Regions from separate parts of the Homo sapiens genome. Here regions 1, 3, 4, 5, 6 and 7 are each linked to region 2. Evidence: promoter capture Hi-C in 16 types of primary human blood cells and fetal thymus (Javierre and others, 2016). All regions are on one chromosome and are shown on one strand. The core of a region is centred on a gene start or on the middle of the fragment in contact, and the rest is flanking DNA. Distances in the headings are between cores, read along the strand shown. Region 1 overlaps BRD1 (bromodomain containing 1). Region 2 holds the start of PLXNB2 (plexin B2). Region 3 overlaps SHANK3 (SH3 and multiple ankyrin repeat domains 3). Region 4 has its middle 11 kb from the start of SHANK3. Region 5 overlaps BRD1 (bromodomain containing 1). Region 6 has its middle 16 kb from the start of ARSA. Region 7 holds the start of ZBED4 (zinc finger BED-type containing 4).

Region 1 (3,512 bases), core at 54-2,553, 510 kb after region 2:
TGTCCTTTCTCGTGGAGCCTCCCACTGTTGATTTTTACATGGGAAATATCGAGCCCTTGAGAGCCGAGTAAGGAACCTTGATCCTTCTGAGTGGATGAGGCTGCATGTGTCATGGGACCTTGGGCCCAGGTGCTGTCAACGGGGCCCCTGCCACTGCCGATGGCGTTTGTTAAACCAGGTTGGGGAGCAGACTAGTAAGTTTGCTTAGCAGCCAGTGCGTGATAAAGGGCTTCCTGGTGATGAGGAGATTTCTTCCGCTTCGTAACAGATTCCCAGGCCAAATGTCCTTTTGGCCGAGGTTTTCAGAAGTGTCGATTGCAAGCTGAGGGACAGGCAATACTCAGATGCTCCGGGGAGCTTGGTTTTTGGAGCCCACATTTTCCTGCCTTTGCTTGAGTTGATGTGGATCTTGTTACTCTTAGCCCCGATTTCCTGCCTGAGGGTGTTCAGCAGCATTGAGGAAAACCCAGAGATCCTCACTTCAGGGGACATCAGCGCAGCAACGCTCTGCCTCGCCATGGAGAGGCCTGGCCTTGGGGGTGGGGGTGCGGGGCTCGGCCTCCCTCCTTGAGCCTCCTTTTCTGAGCAGTTTGGAGTCCGGGGTCCTTGCATCTTGTAGTCCAGCAGTCTTTGCCTTCACACCCTCGGTCCTTTGAAAAGCTATGACAGTACCCTGAGGTGGGCAGGTGGGAACCCGGGGACAGAGGCGTTGGGGGAGAGGAGGGTCTCAGGGCTGTGAAGCATGTGCCAGAAACTGATGGCCACGGCTGTCCTGAGGCTGGCAGGGCGCGCGTGTCCTGCAGCTGTGGAGGATGACAGGTGTTGGGGGCCCACTCAGGCCAACTCCCTCGTTGACTTCCTCTCCCCTTTGAGGTAGGGTCAGGGTGCCCCGGCACTGTGACGAGCAGGCCTCATGCGGCCAGGCCTGGGGGACATGGTGAGGACAGGGCTGAGGGCAGACCCAGGTGGCCTACTCTCCTGCGACCATCTGTGTCATGGCCTTTGCAGGGCTCTGATTTTCTTCTGATCACCCTGGTGTGGATGTTGGCTGGGTTGAGGCTGGCGGCCTGTGCTGTCTGGCGCACTCTTCTGTCCACTGAGAAGGGAGCAGGTGCTATCAATGGAAATGGGACCCTGGCTGTGGGGAAACGTGTGTCGGGATGGAGGCGCTGTGCAGGGCAGGGCAGCAGGTCGGCTGTGTGCCAGGCCCCCGTCATGCTCTGTCCAAGCCAGGATGGGCCCAGCATGTGGTTTTCTGTGCACCTGGTTTCTTTCCAGCCGCTCCCTCCATTCCCAGCTGTCCTGGAGGTGGGTCCTCAAGGGTCCCCCATTCTGTCCTGGCCCCGCCTTTGTGGGCCTTTCTGGTTCTGTGAAGGCCCCCCCCGCCGCCAGCTTGCGGAGGCCTCTGTCCTCTCTGGAGGGTGGAACCTGTGCACCGGGGCCAGCCCCCTGCTCACCTTGGCCTGGCGGTCCCCTCTGTCCCCTCCATCCCCTCTGTCTCCTCTGTCCCCTCTGTCCCGGTGCTGTCCTGGGGCTCTCTAGTGAGGGTGGTCTGTTGTCCTCCCCAGGATGGGCCTGCAGGACCCCTGACGTGGATGCCTCTTGGGGTCTCACCTGCATGGTATCTGAGGCCTTTTGCAGAAGGAGCCTCTGGGTTTGACTGACGGAAGTGTTCACTGTTCTCAGAGAGAAAATGATGAGGAGATGAAGGCTGCCAAAGAGAAGCTGAAGTACTGGCAGCGGCTGCGGCACGACCTGGAGCGCGCTCGCCTGCTGATCGAGCTGCTGCGCAAGCGGGAGAAGCTCAAGCGTGAGCAGGTGGGGCTGGGCCTGTCCCGCGTGGAGTGCACCACTGGCCACGGGGCGTGGGTGGGACGCTGGCAGCTCCTGCAGAGGGTGGGCTGCACCCGGTGGGTCCTGGCCCACAGCAGTGCCTTGCTCAGCCCAGGCTGGGTGCCTGGCTGCCATGGGTTGCAGAGCCCTAAGTGGAGGCTGCGTTGTCCTATGCCTGGACGGAAGCACAGGAGCCTGTGGGGGCTGCTTGTGGCTGTGGGGCGCGTGGTGGGGCTGAGACGCATGTGCGGCTCCCTAAAGCTGAGGCTCTGCTGGGCCCCCCCAGGTGAAGGTGGAGCAGGTCGCCATGGAGCTGCGGCTGACCCCGCTGACGGTGCTGCTGCGCTCAGTGCTGGACCAGCTGCAAGACAAGGACCCCGCCAGGATATTTGCGCAGCCCGTGAGTCTGAAGGAGGTGGGTGTTTGCGGCGCTCGTCTGTCCTGCCGCATGTGTGACTGTGGATTTGTGCTGCCGTTTGACCGGGAAACGTGTGATTGGCTAGAGTACATCCCTTGTGTTCTTAATTCTCGTTTTTATTTAACGTATTTGTTTTTAAATTATAAAAGTGATACATTTCATTGTAAAATACTGAAAGTGCAGTGGGCAAGAGGCCCTGTGCAGACAGTACCCTGGGCTGTGGCAGCATCCGCCCGGCACCCTCCAGCGTGCTTTAGCTGAAGGAGCTGGGGTCGGGAAGGTCCCTGCAGTACTTGGGTCTTATGTCTGTACCGTCTGCGTGTCTGTGTGTGGCTCTCAGATAGGATGGGCTTGTGGGTTATATGGAATAATAAATATAGAGTCAACTAATATCCTGTTTTAGTTTGTAAATGATTCTTTTTCCTCCCTAAAATTAGGTACCAGATTATTTGGATCACATTAAACATCCCATGGACTTTGCCACAATGAGGAAACGGTTAGAAGCTCAAGGGTATAAAAACCTCCATGAGTTTGAGGAGGATTTTGATCTCATTATAGATAACTGCATGAAGTACAATGCCAGGGACACCGTGTTCTATAGAGCCGCGGTGAGGCTGCGCGATCAGGGAGGTGTTGTTCTGAGGCAGGCCCGGCGCGAGGTGGACAGCATCGGCTTGGAAGAGGCCTCGGGGATGCACCTGCCTGAGCGGCCTGCTGCGGCACCGCGGCGGCCTTTCTCCTGGGAAGACGGTAAGAACTGGCGCCGTGTCCGGAGGAGGTGGAAGACGCTCTTTCTAGCAGACTCTGTCCTGCTCTGTGTTGCCAGCTCCCTATCAGCATGGTCCGGGAGCCACTAGCATGCAACCGCATACATCATTTACATTTTCTAGTAGCCTCACTGAAAAATGGAAAAGAAGCAGGTGGAATTTACTTTAATAATATGTCTTATTTTACTCAGTGTATGGAAGAGTTGATTTCAACATGGGATCGGTAAACGTTACTGAGGATATATAAGCTTTTCACCTTCTTTGCCATCTGATGTGTATTTTACGCTCAGCACCTGTCACTTCAGACTGGCTGCGTTTTGGGTGCCCACCAAGAGGACTGTGTGGCTGTGGCTCCCTATGGGGTGGCCGGTCTCGACGATGCAGACCCAGAAAGCAGCTTAGTTGGGGGTTTTCATCCAGAGTGGGCCTCGGCTAACTTCTGAGGGTGGCGTGAAGCCGGAGGATCTCTGGCTTTGCCTCCAGCCCTTTAACTT
Region 2 (3,187 bases), core at 688-3,187:
GGGCCTGTCCCCACCTGTGCAGAAGAGGCCTGGGGTGGAATGTGGCCTGGGGTGGATGGGTGGGGGCTGGGCGTGGAGACCTGCCAGCTCCATCTGTCCGGATGCCTCTTGTGGCCCCCCCAGTGTCAGGGCCGCTCTGAGTTGGCTGAGCCTCTGTCCAGGGCTAGGCCATGGCCCTCCCCGCCCCACGCACTCCAGGCCAGGGGCAGTCAGTGAAGAGGCAGGAAGGTCCAGACAGCTCTACCCCTGGCCAGAGTGCCAGCCCCCGCAGGCAAGAGGGCTTGCTGGGCAGAACTTAGTTGGCGAGGGTGAGGACTGCTGTGGTCACAGGCCTCCCGAAGGACAGGGACCACAGAACCTAGAGGGTGGGAAGGGCTGGGAGCAGGTCTGGAGTGGGGCTCGGGGCTGAGGGTGCACACAGGGGGCCTGCTCAGGGACAGGAAGGACAGCTGCTCACCCTCAAGCTTCCTGCTGGCTATTTAAAGACTCCCTTTTAGTCTAGAACAGTGGCCTTCCCACAGTTTTGGTATTAAAATGTCCTTTTGTGACTGGACCTTGTCTTTTCCTTTTTTGATAAAAAGTTGGCAACCTTGTCAGAACCTGGTAATTTTGGGGTCCTCTGCAGTGAAGGGTAGGGTTGCCGTGATGTGGATTGTGGTTCAAGGCCCAAGGGAAGATTTTGGACAGGAACAAGGCCTGGCTGCTTGAGGGTGGGAGAAGGCAGAGACTGAAAGAACTAAGTCAGGCTGGGGGAGTTTGTCAGGATGTGGCGGGGCGGATCCCGGGTGGGGGAAGCAGAGGAGGAGGGGATGCCTGGCTGGGGACAGGAGGAAGCTGACCAGCTGCAAGGACGGGGCAGGTCTGGGTGGAAGGCGGGCCCCAGGGAGGGGTGACCCAGGGTGGGGGCAAGAGCTTGGGGAATGCTTCTGTCTCCTGCTCAGCACATCCAGTTCCGGGAGGGCAGTGGAGGCGTGCTCCAAGGTCTGGCCCTGCAGACGGTTCACCACCTCTTCTCAAGCCCAGGGGACACTAGGAGCACTGAGGCCAGGACTTGGGACCTGGGATGCCAGAAGTGGGGCCAGCTCTGTCCCAGAAACCAGAACCCCCAGAAAGAGGTCTCGGCCCGCCCACCTCCTGGCCCTGAAGGACCAGGTGGGGTCCCGGGTGCAGCATCCCAAGGTGCTGCTGGAGGCCAGGGATGTGCTGGGAGGCCATCTCCAGGTCCCAGTTTACCCTGGGAGGTTGAGGGCCTGAGACCCCTGGGAAAGGGCCAAAGCCCAGCAGCCCCCACCCCTGAAGGCCGCAGGGGAGCGACTGGTATGCTTCCAGTCTGGGAGTGAGAGTCTGGTGCCCACACATCTCAAGACTGGCAGGGACCCTCACGTTCCTCTGGCCAGGCGAGAGTGCACTCATAATGCCCTCCCCTGGTACCAAGCCATGGCCTCCCCTCAGACCTGCGGGGTTCCTGTGGGGGTGCTCAGGCCATGGGGCCTCTGTGGGCGCTCGTGCTTCCTGGACGGCGGCATGGTGGGCAGGGTGCTGCCCTGGCTGAACCTGGGTCTGAACTGGGGTGCCTGAACCTACCAGACAATGCTGTGGCCGCTGGGCAGGGGAGAAGTGGGGGGCGCGGGGAGCGCAGGCCCAGCCCCTCCCCTCCCGTCCCCTCCCCTCCTCTCCGGTTCTCTTCTGCCCTCTCCTCCCCGCTCCTGCTCCCCCTCCCCTCCCCCTCCCCCTCTTCCCCCTCCCCCTCTCCCCCTCCCCCTCTTCCCCCTCCCCCTCTCCCCCCTCCCCCTCTCCCCCCTCCCCCTCCCCCTCCTTCTCCCCCTCCGCTTTCCCTCTCCCTCTCCCCCCTTCTCCTGTTCTCCCCGCCCTCCCCTCCTCTCCCTCGTCGGGGGCGGGGCCGGCAGCTCCCGCGCGCTCCGGCCCCTCCTCGGCCACACAAAGGCCCCGTCTCCATGGCAGCAGCGCGGGCCAGAGCGCAGCGCCGAGCGCGGCCCGGGCGCCATCGAGCCTTGGCGGCGGACGTGCAGGTACCGAGCTCGGGGGACTGGGCTGCGGGGGACGTCTCGCTGGGCGTGGGGGGGGCTTCGCCGTCAGCGCCGCTCCGCCCGGGCCTGCCGCGCTGGGGCCCGGGGACCTGCGGCGGCTGCGGCTCCGCGGAGGGCTCCCGGGGCCTGGGCCCCGTCCGTCGGTCCATCCGGCGAGGCCCGGGCCGCTGCCGCCCCACTCCCTTCCCGGTGTTGACTCGGGGGACGGGCCCGGCGGCGGGGGCTGCGCGTCCCTCCGGAGCCGCGTCGGATCCCTCCTCCGCGCCTGCCTCTCACTCTTCAGCCGCCGAGCTCCGTGCGCCGAGCGGAGATGGTCTCGCGGTGCGGGCGCTCCGGGCCGGCCCCAGGCTCAGCGGCACAGGAGCCTGGATTTGCCCGAGCTCCCGGGGGCCGTCCCCGCACCCCCTGGGGCCTGCTTGGCGCGGGGGGACCAGGGCGGAGAGCACCCGCACCTGGCGAGACCCCACTGCCTGGGCCTCCTCGCGGTTCCCAGAGTGGCGTCTGGGTGGACACCCCGAGACACAGAAAGTCTCAGAAGCGGGGGCGCGAGCCCTGCCTGTCCCCTGCTGACCCTGCCCCTCCGCACCCTGCTCCTGCAGGAAGCCCCTGCCCTGCCAGCGCCCCTGGTCGGGCTATTCGGCAGATCTGGGGAGCCCGCCTCCCCCTGTCATCTGGGGGTCTCAGAGCCCGGACGCCCTGGGGCTTCCTGCCAGGCCCTTGATTTCTCTTCCCGAAGCTCCCTGGGAAAGGAAGAAAGGGGTCCGTCTGCCCACTGTGGGCTGTGGCAGAGTCAGGACAGGGGGTGAGGGTGAGGGTGAGGGTGAGGGTGAGGGTGAGGGTGAGGGTGAGGGTGGGCCCCAAACCCGGCAGATCCCGGCGGCCTGGAGGGCTCCCTGTGCCCCACCTTCCCTGGACCCCCCCGCCCTCCCCACTTAATGTCTGACTTCGGCCCTTGCTTGGAGGTTCGGCGCAGCCTGTGAGGCTTTAAAGTTGAGCTTCCTCAGGAGCCCTTTGCGGGTGGGAGAGCGAGGCTGCCGGGAAGTGGGGGCTCTCAGCCTGCCCCATGCCCAGATGACCCTGGCACGGAACAGCTGAACAGCTGGTGGGAGGAGCCCTCCCTTTCCTGTCCAGAGGTGAGG
Region 3 (3,167 bases), core at 544-3,043, 410 kb before region 2:
TCAGCTGCTGCAGGCGGGAGCTGAGCTCACTGATCACAGTTGGTTTGTCGTCTTCAGGCCCAGGGAGCCCCCGGCTCTCCACGGGGTCCCCCCATAGCTTGGACCTTCTCTGGAAGAGGTAGCGAGGGCGGGCAGGCCCGGCGGCAGAGGCCAGCCCGGCAGAGGCGGCGTGGTGCTGCTGGGCCATGAGCTCGCTGTCCGAGGACTGCTTCAGCAGCGGGTCCCTGAAGGTCACCGGCCCCTTCCCCAGCGGGGACTTGAGCTTGGGCTTGGGAGGCACTGGTGGCTTCTCGAGTAGAAAAGTGTGTCCGTCAGCGAAGGAGGTGTGGGTGTCAGTGAGTTCCCCGCTCTCCGAGCTCAAGGTGGACATGCTGGACACCGTGGAGATGGTGCTTGTGGTCTCCAGGTGGGGGTCGCTGGAGCTGCGTGTGTCAGCCTCCTCCACCCCAGAGTCGGCTGCAGACTCAGGGGCAGGGGGTGGCTCACTGCTGGGCTTCCCTGAGGCCGGGCTGGGCACCGTGGTGGGCGAGGGGCCCGGGCCAGCGAGTGGGGTGGCCAGCAGGACCCCGTTGGCAAACTCTTCAGGGGGTGGCACCAACCCAATTCGGGCCAGCTCCTCCCTGGTCTCCTCATCGCTGGACGACAGCTGGGCAGGTGGCAGGTTCACAGCAAACACCAGCTCTGGCTCTTCCTCTGAGCTGCCCTGGCCTGGCCCGGCGTCTGCCGGGGTGCCACCAGGGGGCTGGGCCCGGGGGCTGGGCAGGGGCTCTGCCACAGCCGCTGACTGCATGGGGGCCGGGGCCAACTCCGGGGTGCCCGGGCGCTCCTCTTCGGCCCCCCCCAGCCTGCTGGGCTCCTGCCCGTTGCTGGTGGCGTGCACAACGATGAGGCCAGCTGGCCGCTGCAGGGATGTGTCCAGGACGCTGAGGATCATGGACTTCTTGTCCTCGGGTGACTTCCGCTCCTCCCGGGGGACCTTCTCTGCCTCCCTGCGAGCAGGCACAGGAATCCAGGCTGGGCTCCGTGGGGAGAAAGCCGGGGAAGCCAGGGACCCTCGCTCTGGGTCCCGGGCCTGTACATCCACAAACAGGGGTCCGGGGCGGTCGGCGTCGGGACTGTGCACGGGTGTGGGGGACCGGGAGGGCGCCTGGGAGGCCAGAGCTCGCTCTCGGGCAGCCAGGGCAAGGGCCAGGGGTGAGCTGGGGTCCAGGGGTTTGCCGGTGAGTGGGTGGATGAAGGTGGAACCCGAGGGCCCCAGGCTCGGGCCGCTGACCAACGGCTTCAGGGCAGACACCGGGGAGGGCAGCAGCAGGTCGCGGCCGGCGGTGGGGCCGGTCCCCAGGAGGCGCTCGTCGATGGAGCGGGAGGGCTGTAGGGATGGCAGATCCGCGCCGGGGGCGCTGCCCTCGATGGCCCCCACGGACAGGAACACAGTGGAGCGGCGCCGCTCCTCCAGCCGCCGGTCCTTGGCCGGGCCCGGGCCGCCGAACGCGAGCCCCGGGCCATCGCCCGCGCCGTAGTCGAGGCCACCCGGGCGCGGACCGCGGTGGGTCGGGGAGGGCTCGCGGGCGAAGCTGCCGCCGCCGGGACCGGGGCTGCCCACGGCCAGGGCCGCGCGCTCCTGCGCGTCCTCCACCTGCAGCTGCTTCACCAGGGGGCTCTTGCGGCGCTGCGGCTTGGACGGAGCGAAGAGGCTGGCGCTGAAGGCGCCCAGGTTGGCGTAGGGGCTGTCGGGGCCGGGCGGCCGCGGCCGGCGCTTGGGTCGCTCGGGCGGGGTGGCCGCGGGCGGGGGTCGAGGGGCGTCGCCCGACTCGGGCGCCGAGTCCTGCAGGATGATCATGGAGCGCGCGCGCTTCTGCCGCTCGGGATACGGCAGCGGGCCGAGGGCCGCGCCCGGCTCGTACAGGCCGGCAGCGCCCGCGCCCAGGCGCGCCTCCAGGCCGGGCTTGAAGCTGGAGCGCACCGTGTCGTAGGCGCGGCCCGGCGGGGGCGGCGGCGAGAAGGCCGGGGGCGGCCCCGAGTCGAAGTAGTAGGGCGCGGGCGGGGGAGGCGGCGCGGTCTGCGGCGGGGGCGGGATGCCGCGACCCTCGCGCACCGGGTCTTGCATCGAGGTGCTCCGCGGGAAGCGCCCTTCCAGCAGGGACGCCAGCTTCTCGTCCTCCCCTGCGGACGGAAGGGCCGGTGAGACCAGCCAGGGCGCTGGGCGGGGGGTGGTGCTGCCTTCGGAGAGGTTCCTGGGGACCCCGGCAACCCCCTCCCACAGAGGCCAGCCTTGACCCGACTCCACCCCGGGGAAGCCACCGTCCGGACACAATGGACGCCCGCGGCAGAACCCGGCGCGAGGAGCTAGAATGCTCGGGAAGATGGGGTTGGGACCCGTGGTGGGCGGGGAATGGAGGGCAGGGGAGAAACAGGGAGCCCAGAGCCCGGGCTCCGAGCAAGACCCTGGTCTGGGCTGGTCCCTGGATGCCCAAGCTCTGTGCCCCAGGCCCAGGGCTGCACGGGGAGGGCTCTTGTGAAGAGGACAGGAGAGAGGTGTGCGTTCAGTTACAGGATGGAGGAGGGCCCCACCGGGGACCCCTGAGAAAGGACACAAACTCTGACGGCCTGGGTTGGGGCCAAGACCTGCCCAAACCCAGGGTCATCAAGCAGGCCCTGAGAAGATATCCCAGAAAGGCAGGGACAGCCCCGCAAGACATGGGGACAGAACTGCTGAGGGGCTTGGAGGGGCCAGTACAGGGCTCCCCACCCCAGAATCAACAAGGCCGACGCAGAAGTACCAGCCCTGGAGGCAACCAGAGGTGAGAGGAAGATAGTCGGAAATGAGCAGGAGTGACACACTGGCAGGGTGAGGGGCAGCAGGGCTGTGGCCACTGGAGCCAGGCCTCCAGCAGAGAAAGACCTAATGCCCACCCAGGTAAGGAGGTGCCCTGTGGAGGAAGCCTTGAGAGGCTCCTCCCAGAGACCCGCATGGGTGAGTGGGTGAAGGGAAGAACGGACGGATCAATCAAAATGGAACTGCAGGCTGAGCACCCAGCATGTTTCATTTTAACCCCTACTGGCAGCGTGACCCCAGGCCAGGCCCTGAGCCCCTTTGAGCTTCAGTAACCCCCCTCTGCATGCCTTGCTCAGACATCATTGTTAGGGTCCTGTGCAGGGGCTGGAGT
Region 4 (3,197 bases), core at 262-2,761, 350 kb before region 2:
TGTTCATATTTTTTTGGGGGGAGCATGTCCAGTTGTTTCAGAACCATTTTTAAGATTTTTAAATTTAGTTTTTATTGTGGTAAAATATACATAACAAAATTTACCATTTTAACAATTTTTAAGTATACAATTTTGTGGCATTAAGTGAATTCGCCACCATCTCCAGGACATTTTCATCACCCCGTATTAAACTATACTCACTGAACAATAAGTCCTCCAGTCTCCTTTCCACCCAGCTCTTAGAACCACAGTTCTGCTTTCTGTCTCCATGTATTTGACTATTCTAGGGACCTCTCAGCACCATTTTTAAAAAGACTTCCTTTTCCACTGAATTGCCTTTGCACTTTTGTTGAAAATCAGTTGTCCACATATGTGTGGGTCTATTTCTGGACTCTGTCTCTATTCTTTTCCTTTGATCTATATTTATAACTTTCTTCAATTCCATACTGTTTAATTTCTGTAACTTTATAGTAAGTCTTGAAAGCAGATAAGTCCTGTAACTTTGTTCTTTTTTAATTTGTTGGTTATTCTAGGTCATTTTTATTTCTATATAAATTTTAGGATCAACTTGTCAATTTCTAACTCCCCAAGAAAGCCTGCTGGGAATTTGACTGGTATTGCACTGAATTTGTAAATATATTGAGAGAATAGACATCTTAATAATATTGAGTTTTCTATTATATGAACATAGTATATTTCCTCATGTATTTATTTGTTTATTTATTTTGTAGGGGCAGGGTCTTGCTTTATTGCCAAGGCTGGTCTCAAACTCCTGGCTTCAAGCAATCCTCCTGCCTCAGCCTCCCACATATTTTGGTCCTCTTTAATTTATCTCAGCAATGTTTAGTAGCTTTCAGTGTAGCATTCTTACACATTTTTGCTAAATCCATTCCTAAAAATTTTGTGTTATTTCATGTATTACAAATAAAAATTTTAATATAATTTTAATTTCATTTTCTAATTTTTTTTTTTGAGATGGAGTTTCACTCTTGTTGCCCAGGCTAGAGTACAATGGCATGATCTTGGCTCACTGCAACCTCTGCCCCCCGGGTTCAAGTGATTCTTCTGCCTCAGCCTCTCGAGTAGCTGGGATTACAGGCATCCGCCACCACACCGGTTAATTTTTTGTATTTTTAGTAGAGACAGGGTTTCACCATGTTGGCCAGGCTGGTCGTGAACTCTTGACAGGTGATCCACCTGCCTCGGCCTCCCAAAATGCTGGGATTACAGGCATGAGCCACCGTGCCCAGCCTCATTTTCTAATTGTTGATAGTATAGAAAATCACCTCTTTTTTTTTTTTTTTTTTTTTTTTTTGAGACAGGGTCTCACTCTGTTTCCCAGGATGGAGTGCAGTGGCATGATCTTGGCTCACTGCAGCCTTAACTTCCCAGGCTCAAGCTATCCTCCCACCTCAGTCTCCTGAGTAGCTAGGACTACAGGCACACACCACCATGCCCAGCTAATGTTTGTATTTTTAGTAGAGAAACACAAAATACACAGGTTTTCGCCATGTTGCCCAGGCTGGTCTCGAACTCCTGAGCTCAAGGGATCCACCCACCTCAACCTATCACACAACTATCTTTTGCATATAAACTTTGTAGTCTGTGACCTTGTTAAATTGCTTAGTTCTAGTAGCTTTTTTTTTTTTTTTTGAGGCAGAGTTTCACACTGTCACCCAGGCTGGAGTGCAGTGGCGCGATCTCGGCTCACTGCAACCTCCACCTCCCGGGTTCAAGCAATTCTCCTGCCTCAGCCTCCTGAGTAGCTGGGATTAAAAATCTATTTAATAATGTAATCCAAGTTTTTTTTTTATTTTAGAGACAAGGTCTCACCATGTTGCCCAGGCTGGTTTCAAACTCCTGAATTCAAGCAATCCACTCGGGTTAGTCTCCTATTTTTGACAACATGGATGAACTTGGAGGAGATTATGTTAAGTGAAATAAGCCAGGCACAGAAAGACAAACGCAGCATAATCTCACATATGTGTGGAACATAAAAAGAACTCAGAAATGGGGTGGAATGGTGGTTATCAGGAGCAAGGAGGTTGTGGGGGAGATGTTGGTCAGGGAATTCAAAATTTTAATTAGAAAGAATAAGTTCCGCCTGGCATGGTGGCTCACGCCTGTAATCACAGCACTTTGGGAGGCCAAGGCGGGCAGATCACAGTCAGGAGATCAAGACCATCCTGGCTAACATGGTGAAACCCCGTCTCTATTAAAAACACAAGAAATTAGCTGGGCGTAGTGGCGGGCGCCTGTAGCCCCAGCTACTTGGGAGGCTGAGGCGGGAGAATGGCGTGAACCTGGGAGGCAGAGATTGCAGCGAGCCGAGATTGCGCCACTGCACTCCAGCCTGGGCAACAGAGCGAGACTCCATCTCAAAAAAACAAAACAAAACAAAAAAAAAGAAGGAATAAGTTCAAGAGCTCTACTGTACAACATGTTGGCTATAGTTAATAACAATGTATAGTGTACTTGAAAACTGTTAAGAAAGTATATTTTAAGTGTTCTCACCATAAAAAATGATGTGGGGTAATGCATATATTGATTAGCTCAATATGTTGCACATGGTAAATATATATAATTTTCATTTGTTAATTTAAAAAAAACAGTCAAAAGAAAAGATAAATATCTCCCAAAGGAATAATTAGACTGACAACAACAGTGAAGGTCAAGAAAGAGAGTTAAGAATAACCATTAACTCAGAATTATAGTTCTCATTCATTTAAGAATGAGATTGATGAAAAAAATATTTCCAGAAAAGGAAGAGAAAAAAATAAACTTCAATTATTTTTCTCATTTTAAAAGGCATATATTGTTCCTTTTCAAATCTACCATGTTCTTTGGTTCCTATTCTTTCTGATAGTTTCCTCATTCCTTATTCATGTTTTCAGTTGCATCTTTTATCTCTGTGACCATTTTGAGCATACTTACATGTTTTGTGATTTTTAGATGTGATGTCATGTTTGACCAATCTTAGTCTGTGGGAACCTGGAGGAGTTAAGTTGAAAGTGCTCTCCCTCAGAGGTGATTTACATTTGCTCCTGCCAAGTGCTTTAGTGCAGCCAACCTGCAACCACTTCAACTCAATTCCAAACCACCAAGATATTTTGTATTTAAACCCCATGCCCATTTGGAGGCAAGTTTATACCTATAAATTGTCACTGATTTCTTTTCTTTTTTTTTTTTTTTTTTTT
Region 5 (3,328 bases), core at 284-2,783, 490 kb after region 2:
TTTCAACCCGAGGGGCTCTGGCCTGGGCTTCCCAGTGACTGCCGGCATCGGGACATCCACTGCTGTGGCCTTGGCCCCGTTTCCCGTGCTGTGCCCCCCACTTGCTGCAGATGCCCTGAGGAAAGGGTGGCCAAACAAGGGGAGGAGCTGTGAGCACAGATGGGGCCTGCCGGTCAACAGGGCGGGTAGAGCCAGCCTGGTGCTGAGCTTGCAGCTTGGCTGGGGGAGACGCCTAGAGCCCCAGTACCACACAGACCCTCCAGGACTGCCGGGGGTCAGTGAGCAGGACCCTCTGAGGTGTCAGACCTGCCCCACATGTGAGGGGAGGACAGCACAGGTGGGACGCATGCAGGCTGAGCTGCATCGGGCGGTGAGGCTGGGAGGTTGCAGTGAGCTAAGATTGTGCTACTGTACCGCAGCCTGCGTGACAGAGTGAAACTGTGTCTCAAAAAAAAAAAAAGAAGTTTTAAGTGATTTTTGTTAATATTACTCTACTTTACCAAAGTGAAGTCCAGTTTCTTTTCACAGAGCTGTAAATACTCAGATAATTAGTCAATTCAGACAGAATGAACAAAAAATGCTCATAATCCTTCCCATCCAGGGAAAACCCTGTCAAAACCAAGGTGTTTGTCTTTGTAAATTAATCTGACTTTGAAGAGATGGTTTTGCTTGGATTTCTACCTATGAGTCAAAAAGTCTAGGGTTTGTATTAAGAGCTTCTGTATAAGAGGTCTAAAAATTTCAGCTTTACTGAAATTGAAGCAAAATAAACAAAATGTGATCTAACAAAATGAAGAGCCAAAAGTCTGAAGTGCTCCCTTCCCTGGCCAGTACCAGATGATGACCTGCTCTGGGAGAGGCCGGGCCTGGCCGGGCCGCACGCTCTCTGTTCTTTGGCTCCTGATGTTGGGTAGGCAGGACTGAAGGAGGCAGTGTTTGCATGCAGGACATGGGGGCTGAAGTGGCCAGGGCTGATTGAGAAGAAAACTCGACCTAAATATTTGAAAGCATGTATTGGAGCTAAACCGCGTACTGTGTGGTTCTGTTCTTTTCCTAACTTGGGAATAAACTATTATTTCAGCTTCGAGTAGAGAGAGAGAAACAAACCTGGACGAGTGTTCCTGGCCGCGGTCTCTGCAGTCTGGGTTTCCCAGTCTCCAGGAGATGCTGGTGCTTCAGGCCACCTTGCCACCAGTGGAGGAGCTCCCAGTGCGCCTGGCCTGTTGGCACCATGGTGCTGGACCCACCTCTGGGGTGGTTGTGAGGGGCAGGCTCTCAATACAGTACTGACTGCTGCCTGAAACCGGGTTTACTGCCTTGCTGTGGTCTGAGAGGCAGCTGATCTGGCAGCCCTGTTCTTAGGCCCTGGGCACTACCCCTGGGTGCATGTAGGAGGCCTCAGCTGTGCATTTGAATTCTGTGTAGATGAGGGTGAAGCTTCTTATTTTTTATTTTATGTTTAGAGACAGGGTCTTGTTCTGTTGCCCACGTTGGAGTGCAGTGGCGTGATCATGGCTTACAGTAGCCTCAAACTCTTGGACTCAAGCGATCTTCCCGCCTCAGCCTCCTCCCAGCCTCAGCTGGGAATACAGGCACGAGCCACTGTGCCTGGCCCATGGTGAAGCTTCTTGATGTGCAGCCGTGGGCGGGGATGCTGAGTCTAGTTGGTTATGGTGTGCACTAACCAATGGCTCCGGTGTAGGACCCACCTAGAGCATCTGAGGATGTTATGCTTCAGGCCAGCCAGTCACGCTGGAAGGGAGATGAGACCCCATCTGAGCAGCGTTTTAGAGATTTTAGAGAAAGAGGATCTTCCTTATTCCCTGTGGACAGAACAGAATCTGCCTTCAGGGACGGACTGCTTTTATAATTCTAGTGGTTTAAAAAATTAAAATTTCAAGTAAAAAAGATAGTTCTTTTTTTTCCCCCCTTTTTTTTGAGGTGGAGTCTTGCTTTGTTGCCCAGGCTGCAGTGCAGTGCGGTGATCTTGGCTCACTGCAACCTCCACCTCCTGGGTTCAAGTGATTCTCCTGCCTCAGCCTCCTGAGTAGCTAGGATTACAGGCACCTGCCACCACACCCGGCCGATTTTTGTATTTTTAGTAGAGACGGGGTTTCACCATGTTGGCCAGGCTGGTCTTGAACTGCTGACCTCAGGTGATCCACCCGCCTCGAACTCCCAAAGTGCTGGGATTACAGGCGTGAGCCACTGCGCCAGGCTAAAAGAGATAGTTTTAAGGTTATAATCTGTTTTTTTGTAAGTTTGATATACTATGATTAAATAATAACAGCGGTAAATAAACACTTTGAAAAACAGGCAGGGCTGGGTGTGTGGCTCACACCTGTAATGCCAGCACTTTGGGAGGCCGAGGTGGGTAGATCACGAGGTCAGGAGTTCGAGACCAGCCTGGCTAACATGGTGAAAACCCATCTGTACTAAAAATATAAAAATTAGCCAGGCGTGGTGGTGCGCGCCTGTAATCCCAGCTATTCAGGAGGCTGAGGCAGGAGAATCTCCTGAACAGAGTCCTGCTCTTCTGCTCAGACGGGTGCAGTGGCATGGTTATGGCTCACTACAGCCTCGACCTCCTGGGCTCAAGCGACTCCCCCACCTCAGCCTCTTGAGTAGCTGGGACCACAGGCATGTGCCACCATGCCCTGCTAATGTTTTTATTTTTTGGTGAGATGGGGTCAAGCAATCTGCCTGCCTCGGCCTCCCAAAGTGCTGAGATTACAGGCGTGAGCCACCATGCCTGGCCTTACATTGATTTATTGTTATTTTTTCTTTTCTGTTCTTCTTTTTTTTCCTGAGATGAAGCCTCGCTCTGTTGCCCAGGCTGGAGTGCAATGGCATAATCTCGGCTCACTGCAGCCTCCACCTCCCAGGTTCAAGCGATCCTCGTTCCTCAGCCTCCCGAGTAGCTGGGACTACAGGTGTGTGCCACGGTGTCTGGCTAATTTTTGTATTTTTTTTGTAGAGATGGGGTTTCACCATGTTGTCCAGGATGGTCTCAAACTCGTGACTTCAGGTGATCTGCCTGCCTTGGCCTCCCAGAGTGCTGAGATTACAGGCGTGAACCACCGCACCCAGCCCTATTTTTTCTTTTCACTTCCTCTCTCCAGCATACATCAGTTTTTATTAACGGATTGAGTTGCACCTGTATAGAATGACATTTTTTTTTTGAGACGGAGTCTTGCTCTGTCACCTAGGCTGGAGCGCAGTGGCACGATCTCGGCTCACTACAAGCTCCACCTCCCGGGTTCACGCCATTCTCCTGCCTCAGCCTCCTGAGTAGCTGGGACCACAGGCGCCCACCACCACACCTGCT
Region 6 (3,211 bases), core at 338-2,837, 340 kb before region 2:
GTATGGTTGGTCAAATCTGATGGGAGAAAGACCAGAATAAACAACAAAAAACCCCAACAATATGATCACAGAAGGGTCTAATGGAGAAATTAAGACCAGCTGATGGTTAAACGTTAGCCAAGACAAAACCCCAATTCGGCTACTTACCTAGGGATGGGTCTCAGGCCGAAGATGGCTCTCTACCATCCTAGAAGCAGGAAAAAACTCGAGCTCGTCTTCCCTGCTGGGATCGAGCTCAAACTCCATAAAGGAGTTACCTGCGTTCCATCATCATGGAAGCATGAAAGCTTGCCTTCCTTGTTGGACGCAAGACAAACTCCAAAAAGAAGGGAGTTGTACAGCAAATAAACTTTAGATCTTAACCAAATTTTGGAAGCTCAGGGATTCTCTGGAGGGGATGCTGCCAGATCTCAGCAAATTGTCCTGTTGGTTTGAGCCATAAAGTTAGCTCATGCTGGTACCAAGCACTGATAGGAGATTTGTCCAAATCAGGGGCATCTCCACTCAGAATCCCTCCGTGGTTACCAAAATGTGAACCCCGAATATCTGAGATGCTCTCAGTTAATTTAGAAAGTTTATTTTGCCGAGGTTGAGGACACATGCTCGTGACACAGCCTCAGGGGGTCCTGACAACATGTCCCCAAGGTGGTCAGAACACAGTTTTGTTTTATACATTTTAGGGAGACACAAGACATCAATGAACATACGTAAGACGAACATTGCTTTGGTTCAGAAAGGCGGGACAACTGGAAGCAGGGAGGGGACTCCCAGGTCATAAGTAGATCAGATATACATCTATCTCAGTGAGCAGACGGGTGACTTTGGATACAATGGGAGGCAGGTTTGCCCTAAGCAGTTCCTAGCTTGACTCTTCCCTTTAGCTTAGTGATTCTGGGGCCCCAAGATTTATTTTCCTTTCACAAGCTCATGCCTGGGCACAGGAGTGGGAGAGAGAGCTTGGGGACCAGGCTGCCCTCCTGAGAGAATGCCACAGTGGTGGGCATGAAGGAGTCCAGGGAGCAGGATTCCAGGTTGGGGAAACAGCAAGCTCAGTGGCCGGAGGCTGGAGGATGCCTGCAGCCAGCCTGGGCAGACAGCTTGAGGGCACTATATCAGAGACAAAAGTGACTCAATGACCCTTGTTAAAGCACAGTCAGGCACACTTCATTCAGGACCATCACCAGAGGTATAGAGACCACTGGAAGGGGAATTGGCAGCGGGGGAGAAAGACTGGACTCAAACCCAAATACAGCCTGGGTAACTGGGAGTTTATAGCCAAGGAGCAGGGTGGGGGCAGGAGATGTTAATGTACTAAGGGAAAGCATCAGGTGTGAAGAGGATTCTTGCTGAGGACAGGCCAGAGTGACCAACATCACCTGCCAGGTGGTGGAGGGTGAGGAACCTGACCAGATATGATTGCAACCGCCTTTGCAAAACTGCGACTGAAGCAGTGAAGGAGATCTAACATCTAACATCTAACCAGCTCCATCCTGCTTCTAGCCTTTAAGCCATGCTTGTTCCTCCATGGGCGCAGGTTGAACTAACTTTGGGAGGAGCTTGGTTTATAGTTGACAGTTTAAAACAAAGATGAACAGCCCTTTCCCCAAACAAACCTCTTTCTTCCCTGCGGACTAGTCTGCCTTTATAGGACTAACAAATTAGCCACAAGATTACAAATTATGGTTTAGGAGTCATGCTGCTGGAGGCTGCAAGATTCTGATCTTCCCTAAACTGCTCCTAAGTAAGAACAGTGCAGATTCTGATCCTCCCTAAACTGCTCCTAAGTAAGATCAGTGCAGATTCTGATCCTCCCTAAACTGCTCCTAAGTAAGATCAGTGCACATTCTGATCCTCCCTAAACTGCTCCTAAGTAAGATCAGTGCAGATTCTGATCCTCCCTAAACTGCTCCTAAGTAAGATCAGCGCAGATTCTGATCCTCCCTAAACTGCTCCTAAGTAAGATCAGCGCAGATTCTGATCCTCCCTAAACTGCTCCTAAGTAAGAACAGCGCAGATTCTGATCCTCCCTAAACTGCTCCTAAGTAAGAACAGCGCAGATTCTGACCCTCCCTAAACTGCTCCTAAGATCAGTGCAGATTCTGACCCTCCCTACACTGCTCCTAAGATCAGTGCAGATTCTGACCCTCCCTAAACTGCTCCTAAGATCAGTGCAGATTCTGACCCTCCCTAAACTGCTCCTAAGATCAGTGCAGATTCTGATCCTCCCTACACTGCTCCTAAGATCAGTGCAGATTCTGATCCTCCCTAAACTGCTCCTAAGTAAGATCAGTGCAGATTCTGACCCTCCCTACACTGCTCCTAAGATCAGTGCAGATTCTGATCCTCCCTAAACTGCTCCTAAGATCAGTGCAGATTCTGACCCTCCCTAAACTGCTCCTAAGATCAGCGCTTGAGGTATTTGCAGACCCTGCGCTTGATGCATCAGTTGGCACCACCCAGATCCATAAACTGGCTCATCTGATCCTGTGGCCTCAACCCAGCAGCTGACTCGGCACAAGAGGACAGCTTCGGCTCCCCATGATTTTGTCTCCAACCCAACCAATCAGCATTCTCAACTCACTGGCCTTCCCCCACTCACCAAATTACCCTCAAAAACTCTGCTCCCCGAATGCTCGGGGAGACTGATTTGAGTAATAATAAAACTCTGGTCTCCCATACAGCCGGCTCTGCGTGAATTACTCTTTCTCTATTGCAATTCCCCTGTCTTGATAAATCGGCTCTGTGCAGGCAGCGGGCAAAGTGAACTCACTGGGTGGTTACATAAAGGGTGATCAGGTCCTTACTAAAACTGGATTTTACAAGGAAGTGCACAGATGGGCTCCGGAGAAGGTTCAGGAGCTGCCGTCTGCCCAAGCAGAGAAGCTTTCATTGCCACACAGCAGCTACCTCACACCTGCCACGGTTCTTGTGGGCAGTGGATTCCGTCCTCATCTGCTCAAGACTGTGCCCCCAAGCCGGGCGCAGTGGCTCACGCCTGTAATCCCAGCACTTTGGGAGGCCGAGGTGGGCGGATCACAAGGTCAGGAGATTGAGACCACCCCGGCTAACACGGTGAAACCCCATCTCTACTAAAAAAATATTAAAAAATTAGCGAGGCGTGGTAGCGGGCTCCCGTAGTCCCAGCTACTCAGGAGGCTGAGGCAGGAGAATGGCGTGAACCCGGGAGGCGGAGCTTGCATTGAGCCGAGAT
Region 7 (3,131 bases), core at 448-2,947, 450 kb after region 2:
AGAACGAGGGATGGGAAGCCGGCCGGGATTCCAGCGCGGCCTTCACCTAGAACGAGGGATGGGAAGCCGGCCGGGATTCCAGTGTGGGTCATTTAGGCTGCATGTCCCCTGAATTCCGAAACAACCCGGGGGAGCTGGGAGGCGGCTTCAGCAGCAGGCGCTTGGGCCGGGCAGGAGGTACGCACTGGGATGCCGTGAGGCTGCCTCTGCACCTCATGGACAATGCTCTCCTGGGGCTTCCGCCATCGCCCCCAGACCCTTCAGGGCAACCTCCTCTCCCTATGAGGTCTCCGGAGCATGCTTTCCTGAGAAACTGGGATTACCCCTGCTCTCACCTGCCGGTGTTTCTCCTTGAAGCACTTACTGAGCCTTTTTCTCTGGTTTACGCTGCTCCTCACCACCACCATGTTCCCTACGGCCAGGGCCTTCTTTGAAAACCACCATGGCCCCAGCAGGCAGAGAGGCAAGCACCTCTGTCTCTCCTGCTCCCCTCCGCCTCAGAAATGGCAAAGAGCTTATTTTATTCCTAACAATGCCTCCCAGAATTTGAACTACAAAAGCACATATCCAGTGATGACCAAGGAAGGGATCTGAGGTACTGCAGAATGTAGAAAAACCTAGGTGCTAAAAAGTGGGGAGCAGAAGGGCCTGGAAGGCTGGGATGCAGAGAGGCCCGAATCCTTGAAAGGGCTGAAGCCAGAGAGCTGCTGGAATCCACAGACACTAAAAGAGAAAGCCAAAACCAAACCGCTAAGGGGTGTCACGGGCTAAAGGCACAGTGACTTTCTTACACAGCCAAATGTAAATAAGAGCAATTCCTATAGGTACATTCTCAGGTCCTGAGATTTAAACAGTGAAGGAAACAACGTTGGTAAGGAAGGGCCAGCTTGGCCTCTACCCCAGGGCTGGGCAAAGCCACGCCCAGCTGTTTCACCTGCTCCCTCCTCTCAAAAGACAACCACCACACCAAAGAGAATGAGACCAGAAGCTAAAGCCAGGCAAAGAAAAAAACGCAAAACAAAGTGAAGGACGGCACTGACCACGGTCACTTCCTGCTCCTCATGCCGCCAGGAGTCCACTCCCCAGGGCTCCTCACCAAGGATCTGAGACACACACACACACACACCTTTCGCTAAAGAAGCTGCTTCTCAGCTCCTCTGCACACACACAGAAGTCAGTCCGCTCCCCTAGTAATTTTTTTAGTCTTTCTGCAAGGTGTTATGGACATACTTTGCACAGCTGAGTTACTCACTGTGTGTGTGGAGGGGGTTGGGGAGGAGGTAACCTTAAAGAGCAGAGGTTTTACATCCAACAACATCAACCACCTTATTCAGGAATTACCTGGACAAGAGTGTGTGTTGGGGGAGACCCTGTAACCACCTGTCAAGTGGACTAAAAGTCTTAGGTTTCTTTCCATATAGATTAACTGTGTCCTCACCTCAAAGACCGGGCCTCTGAAGCTTTTTCAAGATTCACAGAATCTCTCTTAACTTGTGCTAGATCTTTTCTTGAAAAAAAGCCAATCATGACAAGCAGATATAATCCGTTTAAGGACTACGGGAAGTGTGCAGCCTTGTACGGACGTCCCATTGGAAACCCTCGGAGTATGGAATCAAACTCCTGTAAACTTTCCTCTTGCAAAGTAACTTTGTTTAGTAATTGCAATTAATTCATAATCAAAATGTGGCTTATTCATAGCACTTAAAAAAAAATCCCAACCAAATCCTTCCTAGCCTCAATTTTGTCACTATGAATGACATACACAGAAAAAATAAAAAACATTTCTGTGTAAAAAGTCGCAGGATGCCCTTGCTTTACCAAACTGGCCTCACTATGAGGTCTGAATGGATTTCTAAAAACGTAATCTGATCAGAGTTAACTTCAAAATAAATAACTTCCCTTTCGACCAACACGAGAACACCAACAGAAGCTTCTGACGGCTCAGCTTGGCCGGGACGTGTTTCCACAGAGGTGCCCGGGTCTACCAGGGCCACCCGGAATAGAAAGGCGCAGAAGGGAGCCCGAGGGGCTGCGATTCTCTTAGCAACGAAGGCGGTGTGGGCCACACAACGGGACAAAAGAAGAAACAAAACTGACTGCGAGCTCATTTGGGTGTAGGAAAACCACTGCAGTCGAAAAACATTTGAAATTATGGTTCGCAAGGCAAGTTACATTTTTATTCATTAAATGTGAACGGTCATCCCCAGAACCACGTACAATAACCTGCCTCGGGGCGCGTCGCAAGGACCCGTCTGGGCTGAGACATGAAGCAGGGCCCAGGTGGCCCTTCCTGGAGGTGGGACGGGAATGACACGTCCAGAGAAGTCCCAGGGACGGGGCTCGCGGGGTTAACTCGACGTGGCCGGGACAGCGCGCTCCCGGCGGACCCGGGCGGCGCCCCGAGCCCGAGCCCCGTCCCGTCCGCCCGGAAGCAACGGCGCGGGCACGTGGGCCAGGCCGGGCGCCGACCCCCGGCACTCGGCCGCTCAGTCGGCGCCGCCCCCGCGCCAGCTGTCAGGGCCGGGGTCCGCGCGGGGGCGGGTCCGGGGCGGCGCCGGGCGGGGACCCCGAGGCCACGGAACCGCGCCCCCGCCCGCCTGGCCCCGGCCCTGGCCCCGGCGCGGCGCAGACAATGGCGCGGCCCGGCCCGGCCCCGGCGCGGTCCGCGGGGGACGGGGCTCGCGGCAGGCGGCGGGGCGGCGGCGCCCGCGCACTCACCTCGGCCCGGCCTCTGGGGCGGCTCCCGGCCGGCTGCGGACGACGGCGGCGCGGGCGGACGCTCCATTCATTACCGCGGCTTTGTCTGCCCCCGCGCCCCTCCCGCGGCCCCGCCGCCCGCCGCCCGCGACGCCGCCGGACGCTGCGCCCCTCCCAGGGCCCCGCGCGGCGCGGGGCGGGGCTGGCCGGGGGCGGGGCCGATCGGGGGCGGGGCCTACTCTCGCAGGCGCAGTGTCCGCGTACCCGCCCCGCCTCGTCCCTGGCCGGGCGGGAGGACGGAGCGCCGGAGGCCCGGCCGCTGGGGCGGGGTCGGGCGGAAGACGCAGGCGCAATGCGCGCTTCGGCTCCGCCCCCGGGTCCAGGAGGGCAAACTACGCAGGCGCAGTGGGCGCTCCGGCGCTGGCGGGCGACGG

Evidence for each region. Contacts are between HindIII fragments. The CHiCAGO score rates a contact against its expected background, and 5 or more counts as called.
Region 1: a fragment that was not itself captured here is called in contact with the fragment with the promoter of PLXNB2 in region 2 in 1 of 17 cell types (monocytes); the score reaches 5.1 in monocytes.
Region 3: a contact is called between a fragment that was not itself captured here and the fragment with the promoter of PLXNB2 in region 2, in 1 of 17 cell types (naive CD4 T cells). The highest score is 5.2, in naive CD4 T cells.
Region 4: a fragment that was not itself captured here is called in contact with the fragment with the promoter of PLXNB2 in region 2 in 1 of 17 cell types (naive CD8 T cells); the score reaches 5.1 in naive CD8 T cells.
Region 5: a contact is called between a fragment that was not itself captured here and the fragment with the promoter of PLXNB2 in region 2, in 2 of 17 cell types (total B cells and naive B cells). The highest score is 6.6, in total B cells.
Region 6: a contact is called between a fragment that was not itself captured here and the fragment with the promoter of PLXNB2 in region 2, in 1 of 17 cell types (neutrophils). The highest score is 7.3, in neutrophils.
Region 7: a contact is called between a fragment that was not itself captured here and the fragment with the promoter of PLXNB2 in region 2, in 3 of 17 cell types (monocytes, total B cells and M0 macrophages). The highest score is 5.3, in monocytes.

Annotation. Positions count from the first base shown.
Region 1 is chr22:49,797,294-49,800,805 of GRCh38, reverse strand. It overlaps BRD1 (bromodomain containing 1), which reads left to right. Exons shown (of 13, transcript NM_001304808.3): 4 at 1,687-1,818; 5 at 2,120-2,248; 6 at 2,689-3,001. Among named protein-coding and RNA genes, the nearest start is that of BRD1, 29 kb to the left of the region's middle. The HindIII fragment of the contact is 3,930 bases long and covers 1-3,268 here.
Region 2 is chr22:50,306,396-50,309,582 of GRCh38, reverse strand. PLXNB2 (plexin B2) reads left to right here and starts at 1,937. Exons shown (of 37, transcript NM_012401.4): 1 at 1,937-2,030. It overlaps DENND6B (DENN domain containing 6B), which reads left to right. Exons shown (of 20, transcript NM_001001794.4): 20 at 1-553. RefSeq lists silencers at 866-915, 1,616-1,665, 1,826-2,025, 2,036-2,105, 2,626-2,776 and an enhancer at 3,084-3,187. The HindIII fragment of the contact is 14,640 bases long and covers 467-3,187 here.
Region 3 is chr22:50,719,180-50,722,346 of GRCh38, reverse strand. It overlaps SHANK3 (SH3 and multiple ankyrin repeat domains 3), which reads right to left. Exons shown (of 25, transcript NM_001372044.2): 24 at 1-2,163. Among named protein-coding and RNA genes, the nearest start is that of ACR, 17 kb to the left of the region's middle. The HindIII fragment of the contact is 7,975 bases long and covers 1-3,167 here.
Region 4 is chr22:50,660,290-50,663,486 of GRCh38, reverse strand. No RefSeq gene overlaps it. Among named protein-coding and RNA genes, the nearest start is that of SHANK3, 11 kb to the left of the region's middle. The HindIII fragment of the contact is 8,082 bases long and covers 1-3,197 here.
Region 5 is chr22:49,818,740-49,822,067 of GRCh38, reverse strand. All of the region lies in intron 2 of BRD1 (bromodomain containing 1), which reads left to right. It also overlaps the pseudogene LOC100420885. Among named protein-coding and RNA genes, the nearest start is that of BRD1, 7.5 kb to the left of the region's middle. The HindIII fragment of the contact is 187 bases long and covers 1,440-1,626 here.
Region 6 is chr22:50,642,817-50,646,027 of GRCh38, reverse strand. No RefSeq gene overlaps it. Among named protein-coding and RNA genes, the nearest start is that of ARSA, 16 kb to the right of the region's middle. RefSeq lists enhancers at 1,674-2,173, 2,174-2,675. The HindIII fragment of the contact is 2,596 bases long and covers 290-2,885 here.
Region 7 is chr22:49,853,577-49,856,707 of GRCh38, reverse strand. It overlaps ZBED4 (zinc finger BED-type containing 4), which reads right to left and starts at 2,864. Exons shown (of 2, transcript NM_014838.3): 1 at 2,719-2,864. It overlaps LOC124905147 (a long non-coding RNA gene), which reads left to right. Exons shown (of 2, transcript XR_007068156.1): 2 at 1,422-2,206. RefSeq lists an enhancer at 1-31 and silencers at 2,217-2,506, 2,677-3,131. The HindIII fragment of the contact is 470 bases long and covers 1,463-1,932 here.